Regions from separate parts of the Homo sapiens genome. Here region 2 is linked to region 1. The links are contacts of gene promoters, found by promoter capture Hi-C in blood cells and fetal thymus (Javierre and others, 2016). All regions are on one chromosome and are shown on one strand. The core of a region is centred on a gene start or on the middle of the fragment in contact, and the rest is flanking DNA. Distances in the headings are between cores, read along the strand shown.

The links. The method cuts DNA at HindIII sites, captures the fragments that hold promoters and counts their contacts. A CHiCAGO score of 5 or more calls a contact.
Region 2: a contact is called between a fragment that was not itself captured here and the fragment with the promoter of STAP1 in region 1, in 13 of 17 cell types (total B cells, naive B cells, activated CD4 T cells and 10 more). The highest score is 13.6, in total B cells.

The regions. Positions count from the first base shown.
Region 1 is chr4:67,555,580-67,561,407 of GRCh38, forward strand. STAP1 (signal transducing adaptor family member 1) reads left to right here and starts at 3,148. Exons shown (of 9, transcript NM_012108.4): 1 at 3,148-3,350. The coding sequence starts at 3,231. The HindIII fragment of the contact is 12,125 bases long and covers 1-5,828 here.
Region 2 is chr4:67,646,694-67,652,026 of GRCh38, forward strand. It overlaps UBA6 (ubiquitin like modifier activating enzyme 6), which reads right to left. Exons shown (of 33, transcript NM_018227.6): 14 at 2,375-2,518; 15 at 31-98. Among named protein-coding and RNA genes, the nearest start is that of UBA6, 52 kb to the right of the region's middle. The HindIII fragment of the contact is 2,811 bases long and covers 2,079-4,889 here.

The DNA.
Region 1 (5,828 bases), core at 1,898-4,397:
AGGATAGATTCAGCCTGGGTCTTGAAGGACGAGTAGGACATTACCATATAAACAAAGAGAAGGAGGGGCATCTAAGCAGAGTACAGTGACTGAAAAGGTATGAGGAGACAGGGAAGATCATAGGGTATTCAGGCAACTGAGACTAAATGAAATTACCAGAGCAAAGGGTATTTTGAGGAGTTATTATTTAAAAGGGGCCCTGCTATAAAGGACCAACGTGCCATGCTTGAGCCCATTGTTGGTATTCAATAAGTATTTAGTGTTCAATAAAAAATATTTAAAAAGGAATCTCAAAAGCAATGAGAATCCTTTAAAGTCTTTTCAGTAGGGGAATATCTTGATTAGGTTGAATATTAAATGAATCAAAGAAGAAAAAGAGTGGAAACTAGGAGACTACTTAAAAGCCTTTTGCAGCTCTTCAAACAATAAGTCATGTAGTCCATCGCCTCCTTGTATAGGTGAGGAAGCTATGATACCAGAGAAGTCAAGTGGTTTGTTCAAGGTCTCAAGAGCTGGTTAGTAGCAAAATTAGTTTATGCCCTATGTCCAAACATATTTTCTACTATATTTCCTTACCTACAAATTTATTCTTCACTGCCTAAGACTTGAGGTATCTGTAAGAGGATTTCCATTGTAATGGTGCAGTGGTGCAATGACACTAGTCATTGCAGACAGGACTAACTTGTTAATATTGTTTAAGCAAGATTTTTGCATTTTGTAGTCTTTTTCAGGGAGATATAATTTGATTCTTGGTATATTAAGAATGAATTTGACGAACAAATCAGCAGACCAAAGTAACTTACTGTGTCTGATTAGCTGTTTTTAAATTGTTGCTTATATTTTAAAGGCAAAAAAAAAACTAAGTGCTTATTTAACAACAACAAAAAATCCCCTTTACATTTTTTTAGAGGTATTATTTTCTCTCACCTATGAAACTTTCTGACCATAAAGTCAGTGCGTAATCACTGATGATTCCCAGCATTCTTTCTTTATCCTTGCTTCTTTTCATTTTTCAATTCTTAATCCCTCCTTTCACTTCCCCCCTGTATTACAACAACTAACAGCTGCCAAGAAAGTGGATTAGGTCATATATTCAATCAGGAGGTTTTCCTGTTATTCAAGTCACTTTCTTAGTATACCGAAACTAAAAAATAGTTATGGTTTTTGCCTCAAAAAATTCAGTTGGACTTATATTTTATTATTTGAAGGTTGGGTAGCAAGAAGCAGGTCTAAACTTACAAAAGCAAAGCAGTCATTTTGGATCTTCAACTCCCTATTTCTGTCTTGAGCTGTTTTCATTTTGATAATACATCTGAACACTCTTCTCTAACTTACTGATAATCAGTCCGTATTGTTCTACCTCACTTTGTAGACAATTTGTCATCCCATATCTACAGCTGCAGGATCAGTGGGACCCATACTGGTGGAGAAAACCATGCAGTCTCTCCATTAGGAAAGGAGAATCAGACTGAAGACTCCTGACTTGCTTTGATTTCTAATAATAGGCTGGTCTCACTGGGCCCAGGCTGTTCTAAATCTAGAGTAGTTCTGAAATACTGAGTGTGAAATAGGCAATGGTAGAAATTCTTAGGACCCCTGTAAGACAAATCAAAATTCCTTCTAGTATTCTTTTCTCCCATCATTTCCTGCACTGTGCTACGCCAAATCCAATCTCTTAAGGACCATTTCCTACATGCAACCATTGAGTGCACTTTGGCCCCAGTATAGCTTTATAAATCTCACTAGATAACTGTGGGAAGTCCATCCATGAATCATAGTATCAATGGTCTGCAGCTCAGAAAGCACAAAAGAACAAAATAAAAGTTTGAAAACTTACAGCTTTCTCTGCCAGATATTTTTTTGCCAAATATCTTAGACTCCTTTGTGTTGCTGTAACAGAATGCCACAGACTGGTAATTTATAATGAACAGAAATGTATTTCGCTCATGGTTCTGGAGTCTGGAAGTCAAAGAACATGGCCAGCATCTGATGAGGACCTTCATGCAGCATCATTCCATGGCAGAAGATAGAAGAGCAAGAGAGGATGATAGCATGTGAGAAAGTGCCAAACTTGATTTTATAAAAAACCCACTTCCAGGCCAGGTGCAATGGCTCACACATGTAATCCCAGCACTTTGGGAGGCCACAGCAGGAGAATCGCTTGAGCCCAAGAGTTTGAGACCAACCTGGGCAACATAGGGAGATACTGTCTATACAAAAAATGAAAAAGTTAGCTAGGAGTGGTGGCGCGTGCCTTGTAGTCCCAGCTACTTAGGAGGCTGATGTGTGAGGATTGTTTGAGCCTGAGAGGTCAAGGCTGCAGTGAGCTGTGATTGCACCAGTGTATTCCAGCCTGGGCAACAGAGCAAGACCCTGCCTCTGAAAAAAGAGAAAGAAACCCACTCCCACAGCATTAATTAATTCATTCATTCATGAGGGCAGAGGCCTCATGACTTAATCACCTTCTAAAAGTCCCATTTCTAAACACTGTTGCATTGGGGATTAAGTTTCTAACACATAAGTTTTGGAGGACACATTCAAAACATAGCACTAAATATTCATTGGGAACTCATGTACTTGGAATATCTACTGGCAAAAAAAAAAAAAAAAGAAAGAAAGAAAAAAGAAAAAAATTCCATATTCCGTGTTCCCATAATTGTGGTTTATATTTAGTGAAGCATCAAATGAGCATGAGATACAACTATTTTTTTTATTTACACAAAACTTGACCCTAAAATATTTAACCAACAGAAGTAGTACTAATAAAATTATTCTATGAAGTAATTTTTAATGAAGCTGAGTTTATTCAAGTCATGTCTTCTGCAAATAAAAATGGACACCAATAAACAAAAACAAAGATAGAAAGAATAACTGTGTTCTTGATATCTCCCCTAAAGTTCACAATCTCTACACCTGTTTCTTTCATCTTCTGGTGATGTTAATCTTCTGTTTATTTTGCGCTTTAAATCTAAGCACATGTGGATTACCCAGAGATTGCCCTCTGAAAGTCAGTCTACACCTGTTCTTTCTTACCTCACAAAAAGTAATGGAAAAAAAAGTGTGTGTGTGTGTGTGTGCGTCTGTGTGTGTGTGTGTCCTGTTGGTGGTAGTGTTGGTGGTTAAAAAGCAATTTGGGACTTCCTCTTTGAACAGTTGCCTTTTCCTCTCACAGAAGGAAGATTTCATTTTGTTTGAGACGAGAAACCAAACCACACACCAAAGAGAGGGGTATGATGGCTAAGAAGCCCCCAAAACCAGCCCCTCGCAGGATCTTCCAGGAAAGGTTAAAGATTACTGCTCTACCTTTGTACTTTGAAGGTTTTTTATTAATCAAGCGGTCAGGATACCGGGTGAGTCTATAGATGATAATGTTAAACCTAAGACTTCTGTTTTAATTTAATATTTATTTCATGGTGATGTGATGTGTTAAGACCTCCTTGTTTCTGTTGAAATTAAATCATCTTCTCTTCTTTGAGCTCAGAAAAATGATTCCAATTTTTCATAATTTAAATACAATGTCTGGCTTAAACCTGTATGTATACACATATATAATATGTATAATAACAGAGGTTGTAATATTAAGGCACTAATATAAAAAAGTCAATAAGCTAAATTTCCAAAGAATTTATTTAAATATCACAAAAGATTTTGGCTTGGGAGATAAAATGTTTCTTGTATTTTCTCCACAATTTATTGCTATGCTTCAATGATGACATGTACCATTAAGATAAAATGATATCATGATTAAAATTAAACCTGCTCCTGTTCTGAGTCATTTGAAGTTTATAATGATCAAATTATTAAAAATGGCTTTTGTAAAAATTGTTAAAATGACAAAGTTCATACTGTTTAACATTATATATAGTTATGTGTTCTAAAATACTATTCAAGATAGTGACTTTTAATTTTTGGGGTACTACTGTGGGTATTAAGTACACTAAGCTACATAAATACCTTTGCTCTAAGAAAATCCATGAAGCATTCTGTATTTTTAAATGTAATAATTAAAACTTATAGTTAGTTAAAATCATTACTTTTAAAACAGTAATTATGGATGACTTGAAATTAATTAGAGAAATAAGCCCAAAATTGCCTGTTATTAAATAAAAAAATCATTAAGTTAGGTCAAATTTTATGAAATTGTATACTGACTAAAACTAGAAAAATTTTAAGGTTTTCAGAAATTCCATCAGAAATGTTTAATGATGCTAAAATATATTTTCTGAGGATTTATGAATACTTGTGGAAAAATTATATATATGAAAAATCTATAATAGCATATTCACATTTCTTACATATATAATCAGATCATTTACTATTTGAGAGTAAAGACATGGTAATTTGTATTCTGTTATGGATGTTAAACATGCATAAATAATTACCTTTCAGTTATATTAGAATTTTTTAGATTGATCCTATATGCTTTTAATGTAAATTCAATCTTGTCACCACAGGTAAGCCACATAGTCACACTTTGCCAGGAAAGGGAAGTTGAGAAAAAAAAATTCTAATTAGTAATTTAAATCAGGTTGTTCATTGAATGTTTTCCAAGGTATTTATAATAACTGTTTATGATAGCAGTTTTTTTTAAATGCTTAAAGAAGACATGTCATTGGTATGGTTAGCAGAAAGAATAAGAATTTTAGAGTGTCCTTTATCTGATGGTTTTGCCACTTATAGCTTGTGATCTTGTGCAAGTTACTCAATCTCCTTGAGACTGTTTCAACTATAAGATAGAGAGTATACTACTTGCTACTTGCCTCCTAAGGTACATTCTAGGATTCAGTAGGTGTTCAATCAATTTATTCACTCAACATTTATTGTGTGCCTCCTATGCACCAAGCATCACTCATTTCTGGAGAATATGGAAAAAAACACAAAGATTTTATTTTCAAGAGGCTTAATATAGTAGGAATGATGTCTTCCTTACCAAATTTCTACTCTTTACCTTCTCTTAGAAAGCATTCTTTGAAGCAGAATGAATACCTATAGGCATAAATATTTCCAATGAAATTAACTTGTGTTTCTATTTGAATTTATAGTAAAGTATCTTTGTGTGTGTGGGTGTGTGTCTGTGTGTGTGTGTGTGTGTGTGACAGTGTCTCCTCTGTTGCCCAAGCTGGAGTGCAATGGTGCAATCACTAGTCATGCAGCCTTGACATCCCCGGCTCCGGTGATTCTCCTGCCTCAGCCTCCTGAGTAGCTGGGACTACAAGCGCATACCACACCCGGCTAACGTTTGTATTGTTTATAGAGACAGGGTTTCATCACGTTGTTCAGGTTGGTCTCAAACTCCTGGGCTCAAGCAACCTGCCCACCTTGGCCTCCCAATGTGCTAGAATTACAGGCATGGGCCTCTGAGTTAGACCACTAAGTACCTTTTACTTGTATGTCAGGGAGAAGAGAGCAAGAGGATGACAATAATACCTACTTATGTGGTGGTTTCAGGGATTAAAGGGATAGCATATGTAAAACACCTGGCTCACACTAAAGGTTAGATTCATTCTCTTACCCTTTCATCACTTATCATACTCTTATTCAGGTACTAAAATTAGTTTGAGGTCTGCAAGTAATATGACTCCAAGGAGAGTGAGCATGGTGATAATTAGAGTACTTGAAAATAGAAGCTATGAGAAAAATCTAAGCAAAATAAGTGGAATTTCCAAGCAATTGGCAGCAAAGTGCCAGGGAATCTTTGAACAGAAGGTGAGCCAAAGGTATATAGCCAAGTAATCTTTGGAGCTGATTGGCTAGAGGAAGGTGAGAGGCTCTGCAGAATGTAAAGTTGGGTCTCTGCCAAAGTCATTCAGAACATTTAAACTAGAAAA
Region 2 (5,333 bases), core at 2,234-4,733, 91 kb after region 1:
TAGTAAAAGCAAGAGAAATTTCATTATTACCGTGGGAGAAATTCTTCACATTCAGGTTTGCCTAGTGATTCAACAATATCTGCTGCTTCAAGATATAACTTAAAGTAGAAGATTAAAAACACAATTATTATGTATAAAACAAATTACTATAAAAAGAAGCTCCTTTATAGTTATTTAATAGTCATGAAGAAAAAAATGATAAAATAAGGCAATTCAGAGTAAAATATTTAAAAATATAATTAAAAATATATAATATACATTTCTATATCTCTCATTAAAATAATGGTAAAGCCTGAAGGAACTGTTGACAGATATAATTTGATTCATGTCACTTAGCCATCACAAACATGATGTATCCTAATTTTAAACCAAAGGAAATTTCACCTCCAAATCTATTTTTCATAACTACACAAAAGCTTTAGAAGCCCCCATTCAATTTCAGCTACATTTGAATAAGCAACTTGATTACTTTTTGTTTTTTGTTTTTGATTTTTTGAGACAGAGTCTTTCTGTTGCCCAGGCTGGAGTACAGTGGTGTGATCTCTGCCTCCTGAGTTCAAGTGATTCAGCCTCCTGAGTAGCCAGGACTATAAGTGCGTGCCACCATGCCTGGCTAATTTTTTTGTATTTTTAGTAGACATGGGGTTTCACCATGTTGGCTAGGCTGGTCTTGAACTCCCGACCTCAGGTGATCTGCCCACCTCGGCCTCCCAAAGTGCTGGTATTACAGGCATGAGCCACTGCGCCCAGTCATAATTTGATTACTTTTTGAGAAGAAAGTACCTACTCTGTATTTATTTTTCAGCTTGGATATATAATCTATAATTATACATACTATGTGTATGTGTATGTCATCTATAATTTCACACACTATAGGAAAATAATCTAGGAAACCAAAATTTCAGCATTTTTAAAAATACCAAAGATAATTAATTTAAGTTAATGAAGAAAAGAACTGAGTCTTAATCTCATTTTCATTTAAGTAACTTGTGTGGCTAAATTTGAACATGAACAAATGGTTATTTATTTTATTATAACACAGAATCTATATTAACAATTAATTTCTATTATTTCTCATGGTGTTTTTTTTTTTTTTTTGAGACAGAGTCTCACTCTGTCGCCCAGGCTGGAGTGCAGTGGCACAATCTCGGCTCACTACAACCTCCGCCTCCCAGGTTCAAGCGATTCTCCTGCCTCAGCCTCCCGAGTAGCTGGGACTACAGGGGCGTGCCACCATGCCCGGCTAATTTTTTGTATTTTTAGTACAGAAGGGGTTTCACCATGTTAGCCAGGATGGTCTTGATCTCCTGACCTCGTGATCTGCCCGCCTCGGCTGCTCAAAGTGCTAGGATTACAGGCATGAGCCACTGCGCCTGCCTTAACGGTCATCTTTAAACCAGATTTTTACTAATGTACTTGTATTCTGTGTTGAAATAAATAATTCAGCAGCAAAAATAGCATTATGTGAGTACCTTTTAAAATATAAAAAAATGAGCCGGGCGCAGTGGCTCACGCCTGTAATCCCAGCACTTTGGGAGGCCGAGGCGGGTGGATCACGAAGTCAGGAGTTTGAGACCAGTCTGGCCAACATAATGAAATCCCATCTCTACTAAAAACACAAAAAGTTAGCCAAGTGTGGTGGTCTGCATCTGTAACCCCAGCTACTTGGGAGGCTGAGGCAGGAGAATCGCGTGAACCCGGCAGACAGAGGTTGCAGTGAGCTAACATCGCGCCATTGCACTCCAGCCTGGGTAACAGTGTGAGACTCTGTCTCAAAAAAAAAAAAAAATTAAAAAAAAAAGATAAATGGTATATTCAAAATGTTTATGGTGTTTCAACAGAGAGAGGGCCTGGAGGCAGTATCCTTTCACACCTTGTGCCAATTATTTCTGCTGGCAAAAGAAATGGGGATTTTTATTCCATCTTGTGATGTTCATACCCCATGTAACTCTAAAACCTGTACCACTCCCATGTTTTCCACTTTTGTAAGTTTATACCTAGAAAGGGAACCTGAACGTTCATGATAGTAAAAGATTCCATGGAACAAATTCAAGAGTCCTGAGAGCCCGAGAATGCTAAGCTTATGGTACTGGAGAACAATTACCTATAAGGATAGAACATTCATTCCCTTACTATCACAACTAAGGGAAATATATTTGAGAAGGCAACTTTGGGTTATATCTCAATAGCCCTAAAATATCATCCTGTTAATTTCAATCATAGAATCAAGTGTTGGAGGCATACTGCTTGCATCTCTTTCATGCATCAAAAAGTATTTTAAGGTCGCTTTTCTAATATATTAATACTACATTATAATATGTAACACATTCCATTTCACGAGTAAAGAATTCAACTTTAAAAACTCAGAACTAACCCACTGGCACAAAGGAGAAAATTTTCCTGTTACAGCTTTCAATACTTCTTGGCTGGCAACACCTCCTACTGCTGCAGCAAGTGGAGATAAAAAGCCTTGGGCAGTCCAAGAGAGCCAATGCACAATGTCAGCATTTACATCAGGCTAAAACAAAAGCCATAAAAGACAATAACATTAACAGCATTTACACAGTACACTTAAAATTCCAATGACTAAATGTGAGAATTAGAACTTAACTTCTAAAAAAGCTATTCAGTTCCCCTACTAAATATCTCTAAAAATGTCCCAATTTCATGATAACAGACCCATTTGCGTGTTACCTTAAGTAGTGTCTCCCTTTACTAGTATCTGCCCATTTTTGTCTTTGGATTCTATATGTCACTCTAGGGCATCATTTATAATTAACTCGAATATCTACCATTTATAGTTTTTGTCAAAGAACAGTTCTGTGATGCCAGTCAGACATATTTACAAATAAACAGATTTTTTTTAATTTAAAAAGTTTGTTAATGAAAACTACTATGAAAAAACCCTGAACTATGATAAAGGAAAATAAAATGATCTTAAAAATGATAAGCTATCAGTTTGTGTTGAAAGTTGTAAATAAAAACTGCAATTAATAATAACACAATACACTTAGAGATAATGTTTTCAATTACACTTAAAAGTTATGTATCTCAAAACAGAACATTTTAAAGGAAATATTGGAAAACTGAATTTTAGATCTATTATTTCAGCAATTTCTTATATGTGACAAAGATCTTTTCACGAGCCCTGTTTTCTTTCTCTTCTTATTCTTTAAACATTAGTAATCTTAATTTTATCACTAAACTTCAAGTTTGCCTAATTAATCTTTTGAAATCCTATGTAAAAGAAGAGTTCTTGTACACAGAGGAGAGGACAGAGAAGAGTTTTTATTACACTCTCAAAAATATTTGTGACACAAAATGGTTACTACTTACTATTCCACCCCTCCATTTCAACTTTCTATATCTCATTATTTACAACTATTGAGCACTAGCCTCAACCAAGATCAATTACAATTTAAATTCTGCAATTTTTGAATGCAGATATTGTTGGTGGTGATAATATTAAAAACAATGATGAGAATGATAATAACAGTATAAGTGGGTACTTACCATGCCAGGTTATCTATTAAGTCCTTACACAACCTTCAAAATAATCCTTATAAATATAATTTCTATTATACAAGTAAGAAAACTGAAACATTGAAAAATTAAGTAACTTATTCAATATTTTATAGCTAGTAAATGGTGAAGCCAGGATCTGGACCGAAAAAGTCCAACTTTATAGGTTTATTCTCAGCATTAGGTTATGCAACCTCCCAGGATTCCTTATTTTTTAGTACACAAACATCTAAATTTTGGGAATTTTTGGTTACCATAGGATAAAGACGGCAGCCTATAGCTAAATTTCCCCAAATAATCTCCAAAACATATGCATAATCACAAGAAGAGAAATAAAACAGTGACAGGGCTTCAGTATTACTAGAAAACAGAATATTATAAATTTCAAATTACTTGTAAGTAGAAAGACAGATTGCAAACTCCATCAGCACTCTCTCTGGATTTCACATTGTTACAATCTCGGACAGAGAGCAGAAAATACGAAGAGATCACAGAAGAGAGTGAAAGGCCTTATGGTAACAAAACACAGTCCTAAGAAAAAGAAAGACCCACACTAAGTGCAGAAAATATTGATGAGAGGTATAAAACTGGTGGCAGATATCAGCTGTCAAAGAATGTCATCCTGGGAGAGAAAGATGTAAACAAAAGAGGGGAGACATTCTTTGAGAGAGAAAGCTAAAGAGAGAGATGTTAAGAGTTTGGTAAAAATCAAAGAGACCTACAAAACACACCAATACCTCTCCACCACAAAAAGGTCATCCATTAGAAGCTCCTTTTCAGTATCCTAAGAGAAGAGAATACTACAAAAGTAGGAATCTAAAAAGCACCTAAAACCCTTATCCTGTCCAAAAAGTAAGCACAAAAAGCATTCTACTTTACAAAGCTAATGTAAGAAGAAAACAGAAAACCAGAATCAAAACATTTCAGCTACTGAAAATCCACACCCCCACAACTAACCAAAAGTCAGAGGATATTTAAGTGAATTACATATTCTTAACAAGCACTTGGCAACGTAGGGGAAAAAAACAACACAAAAAACCTTGAATCAGGAATTTAAAAACTAAGAACAGAAATGATCCATTCTACCCTTCCAGAAAAGAAAAGAAATACTTAAACAACATTTGACTCTGCATATCAAAATGGGCTTATGGTGTACGTAAGAAACTTTACTGAATAATCAACTCTGAGATATAACCTGGTAAAACTATTAGATGAAGACAAAGATTAAACACATAGGGCCTTAAAGCAAAAAGACCAGATTACTTCTAACAGTATGAAAATTCGGCTGCCATCTGATTTTTCAACAGTAAAATATAAAGCAAGATACCAGTGAACAAAGTAAGAGCCCAGAATTTTACATCTAGCCAAGCTTACAAGTATGAAAACTACAGAAAAAATATGAAACATATAAAAACTCAGGGAATACCATAATTCTGAGCTCTTTTTGAGAAACAGACTAAACCTGACTTCAAGACTTAATATAAAAGCCACAATAAGCAAGACAGGATGGAGCTGGCAAAAGGACAGAAACAACATGAAGACAATAGAGTACAGAAATAGACCTACATATATATGGTTAAAAAAAACTGTTGACAAAAATGCCATGACATTTCAATAAAGAATAGCCTTTTCAACAAATGGGCTAGAATAGCTGGACATTCATACACAAAAAAATTAACTTTCATCTATACTTTGTGCAGTATATAAAGACAAACTCATAAAACTACAAAAGAGTGCATAAAATTAGTGTAAAGTCATGTACACTGATCTGTACTTTGTATGATCATGTCTTTATCAATACTTTGCACCAT